Linked DNA regions of Homo sapiens: regions 1 and 2 are each linked to region 3. The links are contacts of gene promoters, found by promoter capture Hi-C in blood cells and fetal thymus (Javierre and others, 2016). All regions are on one chromosome and are shown on one strand. The core of a region is centred on a gene start or on the middle of the fragment in contact, and the rest is flanking DNA. Distances in the headings are between cores, read along the strand shown.

Region 1 (2,966 bases), core at 270-2,769, 220 kb after region 3:
CCTTCAAAGCATTGTTTTTTTCTTTTTCCTTAGACAAATGCTCTTCTGTAGAGTGACCCTTGGGAAATCCTTTCTGCAGTTTAGCACCATGAAAATGGCCCACGCGCCTCCAGGGCACCACTCAGTCATTGGTAGACCGAGCGTCAATGGGCTGGCATATGCTGAATATGTCATCTACAGAGGAGAACAGGTATGTTACTCATCAAACAAGCATAACCAAGTTCACAAACATGTCAATAGAGCACAGAGACCGTGTAAGACTTGAGACACTTTTCAGTGAAATATCCACCACACAGTGTGCTAGTATTAATTACTTCAGATACAAAATAAAGGTATCAAAATAATTCTTTGACATCAACTTTTTACCTAAAACCCATTAGTAGCTGTCAGCCACATAACACAGTGTGAACAAGAGGGCAGCTGAGAAACAAAGGCTTGGGCCCTCATGCCGTTTTGAGGCCTGCAGCTCTGAACTAATGCCTTGTGCCACTTCGTGGGCAGCATGCCAGGGCAGCTGCTGTTAGTGGGTCTTCATGGATGTACATGCCACAGGATTTGTCCAAAAACAAAAACAATTTGTCTGAATGTAAGTGAACTTCAAATGAATACCATAACTACAATAAAAGAGAAAAATAAAGAAGGAAATAACTAAATATATATAACCTATGAAAACAGTATTTTATACTGTGCCTTCAGTCATGGGCAGGGTAGGGAATGCTGTTGGGGGAAGACTGACAAAGGAATCCTGAACTCCTTTTAGTAAATGTGTTGATGGAGATACCGTGGGCAAAACAGTGAAACTCTTAAGCATATTATAGGATTGAGCACATGAGCGGATGTGTTGATGTATTGATTTGAGGAGCCAAAATTCTCATGGTAGAAGAAGGGACATACAAATATGGAATGGAGAAGGTAAGAAAGACTCTAAGGGTGGACTGAAATTGGAAGTATTACTATGATCTCATGGTTTCTAACGTGTGTGTACACCCATGTAAATTTATGGGTAAGTAGTAATATAAGCATGTGTGTGTATATGAGAGAAAGAGAAACCAAGGAAGGGAGGGAAGGAGAGAGAGAGAGACAGACAGGAAGGAAAGGAGGGAGAGAAGAGAGGAAGGAAGGAAGTGAGGGAGGAAGAGAGAGAGGAAGGGAGGGAGAGAGCGAGGAAAGGAGGGAGGGAGGAAGGAAGTGAGGGAGGAAGAGAGAGCGAGGAAGGGAGGGAGGAGAGAGGAAGGAAGGAAGAGAGAAGAAAGGAGGGAGAGAGAGGAAGGGAAGCAGGGAGGGAGAGAGAGAGGAAGGGAGGGAGGGAAAGAGAGAAAGGGAGGGAAAGAAAGGGAGACAGATACTAAGGAAGGGAGGGACAGAGGAAAGGAAAAGAGAGAGAAGAAGGGAGGGAGAGAAGAAGGAAGGGGGAAAGAGATAAAGGGAAGGAAAGAACGGGAGAGAGAGGAAGGGAGGGAGAAAGACTGAGAGAGGAAGCAAGGGAGAAAGCGAGAGAGGAAGGAAGAGAGAAAGGGAGAGGAAAGAAAGAAGGGAGGAAGAGAGGAAGGAAAGAGGGAGGGAAAGAGAGAGAGGGATGAATGGAGGGGAGAGGCAGGAAGGGAGGGAGAGAGAGAGAGAGAGAGAGGAAGGGAGAAAGCGAGAGAGGAAGGAACAGGGAGTGAGAAAGGAAGGATTGGAGGAAGGAGAGAGAAAAAAAGGAAGGCAGGAGAGAGAGGAGAAGGGAAGTGGGGGAGGAAGGGAGAAGGGGGAATGAAGCGGGGAGAGAGGGGAGGGAGGGAGAGAGAGCTAGAGAGCGGAACGGAGGGAGAAAGTGAGGGAGAGCAGAAGGAAGGGATGGGGAGAGAGGGAGGAAGAGGGAGGGAGGGGGAGAGGGAGGGAGTGGGAGGGAGTGAGAGGGAGAAAGAGGTGGGAGGGAAGAAGGGATAGGCAGAGGGATGGGGGAGGGAGAAAGGGAGGGAGTGAGAGGAGACAGAGGTAGGGAGGGATGGAGGGGGAGAGAGGGAGAGAGAAGGAGGGAGGGAGAAACAGGGAAGGACGGGTGGAGGGAGGGATGACATGGGACTCATCATGTACCCATTATTAGACCAGGCAAGAATTATTAATGGATGCTAAATATGGGGATTGTTTCACTAAGGAGAAGAATATTTGCGTGGTTTTCTTATTACAGACTTACTTTCAAAGGGGGCTGGGGGGAGGAGTAATTATATATTGGAGAAAGGGGACAATGCCTTGACCAGATAATCAAAATCAACATCACCAATGAGGGACAGATAGGCTTATATTATCTCTCTAGGTGGATACTCTAAAGGCACGACATCTCTGCAGCATTCCAGCCAAAAATACATGATGTAAGTCTAATCAAAATGAGGAATGTTTTACTTTTTTTAATGTTGAAAGATTGTATTCTTCAAAAATGTTAATATTATAAAAGAAAGGCTGTGCTAACTTTCCAGATTACATGAGGCCCAAGAGACATGAAAACGAAGTTAACCTTCTGCCCCCAACTGCATCCAGTATTGGAAGAGAAAGTACATTATTAGATCAACTGACAGAATTGGAATATGGACATTAAATAAAAGGATTGTATCAATGTAAAATTATAAGGTTGATTCTGTACTTACGTAAGGCAATATGTCTATGCTTAGAAAATATATACTGGCATATTTAGGGATAAAGGACCATGATGATGTATATAACTTGTAAACGTTTTGGGGAGAATGTGTGTGTGTGTGTTTGTGTGTGTGTGTGTGTGTGTCTGTGTGTGTGTGTGTGTGTGTGTGTGTGTAGTGCGTATGTGTGGGTGTGGGTGTATCTAGTATACAGGGATAGGGAAGGGGCAAATGATAAAGCAAATGAGATAAATAAAACCTTCCCAAACGTAGATCTGGGTGAGGTTATGTAGCTGTTTTTGGTACCATTTTAATTTTTGCAACTTACTTGTAAGTTGGTAGCTGTTTCCAAAT
Region 2 (3,326 bases), core at 481-2,980, 190 kb before region 3:
GTGGTGGCTCACGCCTGTAATCCCAGCACTTTGGGAGGCCGAGGCGGGCGGATCACGAGGTCAGGAGATCGAGATCATCCTGGCTAACACGGTGAAACACCGTCTCTACTAAAAATACAAAAATTAGCCGGGCGTGGTGGCGGGCGCCTGTAGTCCCAGCTACTCGGGAGGCTGAGGCAGGAGGATGGAGTGAACCCGGGAGGCAGAGCTTGCAGTGAGCCGAGATTGCGCCACTGCACTCCAGCTTGGGAAACAGAGAGCAAGACTCCGTCTCAAAAAAAAAAAAAAAAAAAGGAAGGGACCTTCCGATTATGCGCACCACATACGGTGTTTGCGACAACCTAGGATACATTTTATTGTTGGTTCCTATTGGAGATAAGGGATTGAGAGAGACTGATGTGTGCATAGGCATGAACGGGATTGTTCAGACATCCCTGCACTTACAGGGTGTGTCCTTTTAGGATTTCCTGAGCATAAACACGAGGGGAGGGTGAAAAGTCCCACTGTTACCTGCATGCCATGAAAATCCACTGGTTTTGGCTCCAGTTTTTGCTCACTGTCCAACTAAAGCAGCATTTAAAAAAAATGGAAACCTTGAGACATTTCTATTGTTCTGAATCAGCTGAGCATGGATGCTGAAATGTCCCTGCTTCCCACTAGGGGGAGCTTGTCATGCAGCACCAGAAACAGGATCGCGGGAGCGGGTATCGGTGAGGCTGAGCTGGAACGCGATTAGATTTTGTGCGTATGGATCTTCTCACGAGAAGCACACCTGTATTCTGTATTTTGGCTTTGATATGATTTGGTGGCTAGATTTAATTTTTGTGCCACCAGAGTGGATGTTATAGCTCCCGTTATGTAATCTAAAAAGCTTAAACACTTTTTCTACAGCACAGGGCTTTTTTCCTTCTTTCTACTATCAGATTGTATACATAATGATCCCTTATTTAAGGCACTGAGCCGGGCCCCACGCAAAGTCTCACGAGCAGGTGGGCTTCTTCCCCATCAGTGTTAACTGGCTTGGGGTCCATTTCACAGAACCCACTGTCTATCGCGGCTGTCAACAAACTGTGCCCTTCTAATTCAGTTTGACCAGCCTCGTCTAGCTAATGCCAAATCTACTGTGTTCTCTTATCACTGTCCCTGTATTAAATATAGTTAAGAGGAAATGGGGTCATCTTTGCTTTTTGAATATTTTTATTTCCTGGTTGAAAAACAATTGAGTAAAATGTTTTTGTTTCTAGAGGGGGTGACATGGAAATGCTCTATTTCAGTGGTAGAAGGTGCTGCGGAGCAGCGGGAAAACTGTCGCTCTGAAGTCAGAAGTTGGGTTTCAATCCCTGCAATGGCCCTTACTTGCTGACTAAAGGCTCTCAGTCTACTGTAACCCACCGGGCTTCCATTTCTGTCAATTAAGTAGGGATAACAATATGCATTTCGTGTGTGTGTGTGTGTGTTTTTAATGAGAATGGATAAAGAAAGGCAGTTGAAAAGACACAGCACAGTCCGGGTGCGGTGGCTCACGCCTGTAATCCCAGCACTTTGGGAGGCCGAGGCGGGTGGATCACGAGGTCAGGAGATCGAGATCATCCTGGCTAACAGGGTGAAACCCATCTCTACTAAAAATACATAAAATTAGCCGTGTGTGGTGGCGGGCGCCTGTAGTCCCAGCTACTCAGGAGGCTGAGGCAGGAGAATGGCGTGAACCCGGGAGGCGGAGCTTGAGATCGCGCCACCGCACTCCAGCCTGGGCGACAGAGCGAGACTCCGTCTCAAAAAAAAAAAAAAAAAAAAAAACAAGAAAAAAAGAAAAGAAAAAAAGACACAGCACAGTGACTGGCACATAGCAGGTGTCACTCCATTCCTCTTTCGCTTTGGTCAGGAATCCCCTTTGCCGTTTGATCACTTTTAAAGACAATCCCTCATGTTTTCTTCCTTGTATTATTTAATAGCCTGTTCGCCTGTTCAGTGTAAGATAAGGAAACATTAGTACAGAAAAATGGGGAATAGACAAATGGCGAAGGGACGGCTATCCTTTCGGAACAGAAAACACAACTTAATTACATTCACAATGGATCAAAACGGCTTCCTGAATCAGGTACCTACAGTTTGCGGCCTCTCTTATGTCCCGCCTGCGTCTCTCTGTCTACTACTCATCACCAGATGCCAGGGCCACCTCCAACAGCGGTGCCTGCATTCCTTCTTGATTTAGTATCTTTTTGTAATTGATACATAATATTTTCACATATTCATGGTGTATATGTGATGTTTTGTTACATGCATGGAATGTGTTATGATCAAGACAGGGTATCAGGGTATCCAGCTGGAGTATTTATTTCCAGGTGCTGGGAACATTTCAAGTCCTATCTTCTAGCTATTTTCAAAATATGTAATGCAGTCGCCCTATTCTACCATCTAACGTTAGAACTTATTCTTTCTAACTATATGTTTGTACCCCTAACCAACCTTTCTTCATTCCCCCACCTTCATGTCCTTCTTAACTGCTAGTAAACGTTCTACTCTCTACCTCTGTAAGATCACCTTCTTTTAGCTCCCACATATGATGGAGTAAATGCAATAAAAATATGGAAAGCTTCACAAATTTGCACGGCATCTTTGTGCAGGGCCGTGCTAATCTTCTCTATATCATTCCAATGTGCCAATTACTAATGAACTAAACACTAATACTTTCTGCCAAAGTAAGCATGGATTTAGGATCTTTGACATGATCCCAAAAAGATAGACATTGCAGTGCTTTTGTGGATGATATCCAATTGAGGTTCTACTTCTGCAGAATTAAATTATAATTTTACACAGTCTTTTGGAAGATCCCAGGATTTGATAAAGAATTTCATGAGAATCTAAATCCAAGATTTCTCCACTCACTGGGGCCTGGTTAACTGATATCTGGCTATAAAATTCCAACACAGGATAGATTTCAGTTCAGTTCTGAACTGCCTTCTTGGCTTCCCAGTTGATATAAGACATGCATTCTAATGGAAACACATTGCTGAATGTGGCTAGGCCATAGAGCTGAATTAACTCAGGTTAGCTTTATTTTGGATAAGTAGGCTTTTTGTGGGCTGCCCTGGGAACTTTTTCATTATGTATAATTTCATACCTATGGAATATGAGGCTCAAATTCTAAATGACTGGCTTGCCAACTTTTAGAATTTACCTGCTTTAAAATTGGGAGCAATCTGTTCCTTTGTAAATGTTCTGAACTGGAACTATAATTCAGATAAATAAGGGCATTTCTAAATGACAGAGCCCAAAGGAAATCTGTTTGCAAGAGGGACAGATGCCCCTCAGGAAGACAAGCAGGG
Region 3 (3,329 bases), core at 499-2,998:
GATGTGAGTTTTCCTATCCAGCTACACTTTTTGTCCGGTGTCTACTGCGAACAATGGCACATTTCATCACACAGCTGGATAATGTTAAGAATTATAATCTGTAACCCCAGATTAGATGAAAATAAATGCCACTCGTAATACTAATTATGTTCCTGACCTTATTGTATTTACTTACTAACCCCAAATAAACTCATCTATTTACTTAAATGGGAATATTAACATCACATAAATCATATTTAACAATGAACACATGAAACAATTTATCACCTAGTTTAATATTCTGCTTGACTCATCTAAATCTTGTTTCTCTTACAGAATTTCCATCTGTGTCCACTCTATTGGAATAATGCTGTTTCTGTATACTTCTACAATGCCTGCTTTACTATTGAACAGTAGGTATGAAATGGAGTCCTCAATGGGATTATCTCATTCATGGATACATCTTTTGATAGTAGAAAAACAAAAGTATACATAGGTTGGGGGAAAGACAGAAAAAGCAGTTGCTGAAAAATAGCACCTGATGGTGAGTAATGGACAGCAATCAGGTTTTTGTTATGTTTTCTTGTTGTTTTTGTGACAGGGTCTCCGCCCTCTGTCACCCAGGCTGGAGTGCAGTGGTGTGACCTCGGCTCACAGCAACCTCTGCCTCCCGGGCTCAAGTGATCCTCCCAACAGACTCCTGAGTAGCTGGGACTACACGCATGTGCCACTTTGCCCAGCTAATCTGTGTATTTTTTGTAGAGATGGAGCTTCGCCGTGATGGCCAGGCTGATCTTGAACTCCCGGGCTCAAGTGGCCCGCCGGCCTCGGCCTCCCAAAGTGCTAGGATTACAGGCATGAGCCACCGTGACCAGCCTAGCAATCAGGTTTTTATCTGTTTCGGGTGTGGGAGAGGCTAAGCTAAGCCAGAATTCAAAAGAAAGGAATATATTCATAATTAGTTACACTTAGGGTGAAAAATAAAATTTCAGAGAGAGCAGAATAGGAAAAAAAAATCATAATTTTAATAATTCACACTTATTGCACTATTGTTATTTCAATTTTACAGAGAAAAACAGGCATAGAGTGATGAAATAGCAAGTACATATATAAACAACAAATGGCAGAGCTGGAACGCCAATCCTAGCAATCTGAACCAGCATTTAAAAACGAGGAATTAAAGCACATAGGGTGAGAAAAATTATAGGGAAGGGACAAGAGCTCAAGGGGACACCTGGAAAAGAAATACTATAATTTAAAAAATTACCAACGGGCTAATTATACTTGTGTTTTACTGGCAGAGCGCTTTGTCTGTTAGCTCTTTTAATCCCGCTAATAATTCTGTGAGGTTGGTACTATAAGTTCCATTTTTCAGACAAGGACGCTTAATAGATGATAACGGACACATTCCCTGCTTGCTCTGATCTGCATCTCAACAGCTGGCTCTGGAGCAAGCAAAGGGAGACTAAGGGAAACAGAGCGGAGCAGGGCAAAGAAAGCCGACTGAAAGTGAGAAATGCAGGAAATGTTTCCCATCTAGGCAGAAGCTGGTTCCAGCATTCAAATCTCTCCAGCCGGCCCGCCACCACGTCACAAAGCCCGCCTCTCAGTGACAAAGCCCCGCCCCGTTCCCTTGGCTGTTCTCTGAGCTCCCAATACTTCCCTCCTTCTCTTTGGCCCCTGCTACCCCGCCTAGCATCATTTCCTGTGCGCTGGATGCTGATTGGTCCGACAGTCGGAAGTGAGGGCGGGCGGTGGGGGCCGTTGCCGCAGTGACAGTGCTAGGGGAGTCCGAAGATGGCGGCGTCGCGTCGCTCTCAGCATCATCACCACCATCATCAACAACAGCTCCAGCCCGCCCCAGGGGCTTCAGCGCCGCCGCCGCCACCTCCTCCCCCACTCAGCCCTGGCCTGGCCCCGGGGACCACCCCAGCCTCTCCCACGGCCAGCGGCCTGGCCCCCTTCGCCTCCCCGCGGCACGGCCTAGCGCTGCCGGAGGGGGATGGCAGTCGGGATCCGCCCGACAGGCCCCGATCCCCGGACCCGGTTGACGGTACCAGCTGTTGCAGTACCACCAGCACAATCTGTACCGTCGCCGCCGCTCCCGTGGTCCCAGCGGTTTCTACTTCATCTGCCGCTGGGGTCGCTCCCAACCCAGCCGGCAGTGGCAGTAACAATTCACCGTCGTCCTCTTCTTCCCCGACTTCTTCCTCATCTTCCTCTCCATCCTCCCCTGGATCGAGCTTGGCGGAGAGCCCCGAGGCGGCCGGAGTTAGCAGCACAGCACCACTGGGGCCTGGGGCAGCAGGACCTGGGACAGGGGTCCCAGCAGTGAGCGGGGCCCTACGGGAACTGCTGGAGGCCTGTCGCAATGGGGACGTGTCCCGGGTAAAGAGGCTGGTGGACGCGGCAAACGTAAATGCAAAGGACATGGCCGGCCGGAAGTCTTCTCCCCTGCACTTCGCTGCAGGTCAGAGACTTTTGAATTGTTTATTAAGGGTTATGGGTTTGGGTGCAGGGTCCGGTTAGGACAAGAAAACAGGTTATTGTGATGGGACAAAGTGGGGGCGTGGTTATGGTTCTTCATCACCTCACCAGAAGACTGGAGGTTCCTTTCTTTTGGTGGTGCCTGGGTGATGGGGGCGTGGTTGGGGGGGATAAGTGAATCCAAGGAATTCTTCAGTGGTTGCACAGTACTCATTACAAAACTCACTGTAGTTGGTAGTCTCTGCATATGGATATATTTACACTTTAGTTTTTGGTGTGCAGGAATACAGTTAGATTTGGACAGCTTTAGAGTAGTTTTGTCGTTTGTGTGCTAGTTTATTTTGTTTTTACAAGGGTATGTCCTTTGAGGACAGTCCAGACCAAAAGAGGTTTAATACAACCCAACACATGTTTGAGGATCTATTGTAGCCTTAATAACCCAATGAAAGACATAAATGAAGTGTTTGAAAGTTTCCCTTCTTCTAAAGAAGTTTGCAGTCTAGACGGGGAGACCAAAATATGCCAATGTGAAACAACTGGAGAAGAATATTTGGATGCATTATATGATGATGGAAGAAATATAGGCTTTGATGTTGTGGCCACTATTATTTGTTGTCTAGCAGACCATTTACCTCGTGTCAGTTGCCTCAGTTTTCTCATGGGCAAAAATCATAAAATGATGTTGTGCGAGCATTTGGTGAGAAGTATCTGGCACAAAGTTCTCCCTCAAAAAGTGTGAATTTCTTAAGCTCTGGACCCCACACTTGTCTTTTTTTTTTTTTTTGCAAGTAGTTGATGATTTTCTCTCAAAGACACCTAATAATATGTTTATAAAATAAAGAGAACTGTAAAATAAAAACAAA

Evidence for each region. The method cuts DNA at HindIII sites, captures the fragments that hold promoters and counts their contacts. A CHiCAGO score of 5 or more calls a contact.
Region 1: a fragment that was not itself captured here is called in contact with the fragment with the promoter of TNKS in region 3 in 1 of 17 cell types (naive CD4 T cells); the score reaches 5.6 in naive CD4 T cells.
Region 2: a fragment that was not itself captured here is called in contact with the fragment with the promoter of TNKS in region 3 in 1 of 17 cell types (endothelial precursors); the score reaches 6.7 in endothelial precursors.

The regions. Positions count from the first base shown.
Region 1 is chr8:9,770,073-9,773,038 of GRCh38, forward strand. It overlaps TNKS (tankyrase), which reads left to right. Exons shown (of 27, transcript NM_003747.3): 26 at 34-190. Among named protein-coding and RNA genes, the nearest start is that of MIR597, 30 kb to the left of the region's middle. The HindIII fragment of the contact is 3,049 bases long and covers 1-2,966 here.
Region 2 is chr8:9,368,511-9,371,836 of GRCh38, forward strand. All of the region lies in intron 1 of LOC105379231 (a long non-coding RNA gene), which reads left to right. It overlaps LOC105379230 (a long non-coding RNA gene), which reads right to left. Exons shown (of 3, transcript NR_188127.1): 3 at 3,035-3,326. It also overlaps the pseudogene RNU6-526P. Among named protein-coding and RNA genes, the nearest start is that of TNKS, 190 kb to the right of the region's middle. RefSeq lists an enhancer at 731-780. The HindIII fragment of the contact is 1,722 bases long and covers 870-2,591 here.
Region 3 is chr8:9,554,164-9,557,492 of GRCh38, forward strand. TNKS (tankyrase) reads left to right here and starts at 1,749. Exons shown (of 27, transcript NM_003747.3): 1 at 1,749-2,449. The coding sequence starts at 1,777. RefSeq lists enhancers at 1,432-2,093, 2,094-2,753 and a silencer at 1,852-2,011. The HindIII fragment of the contact is 11,121 bases long and covers 1-3,329 here.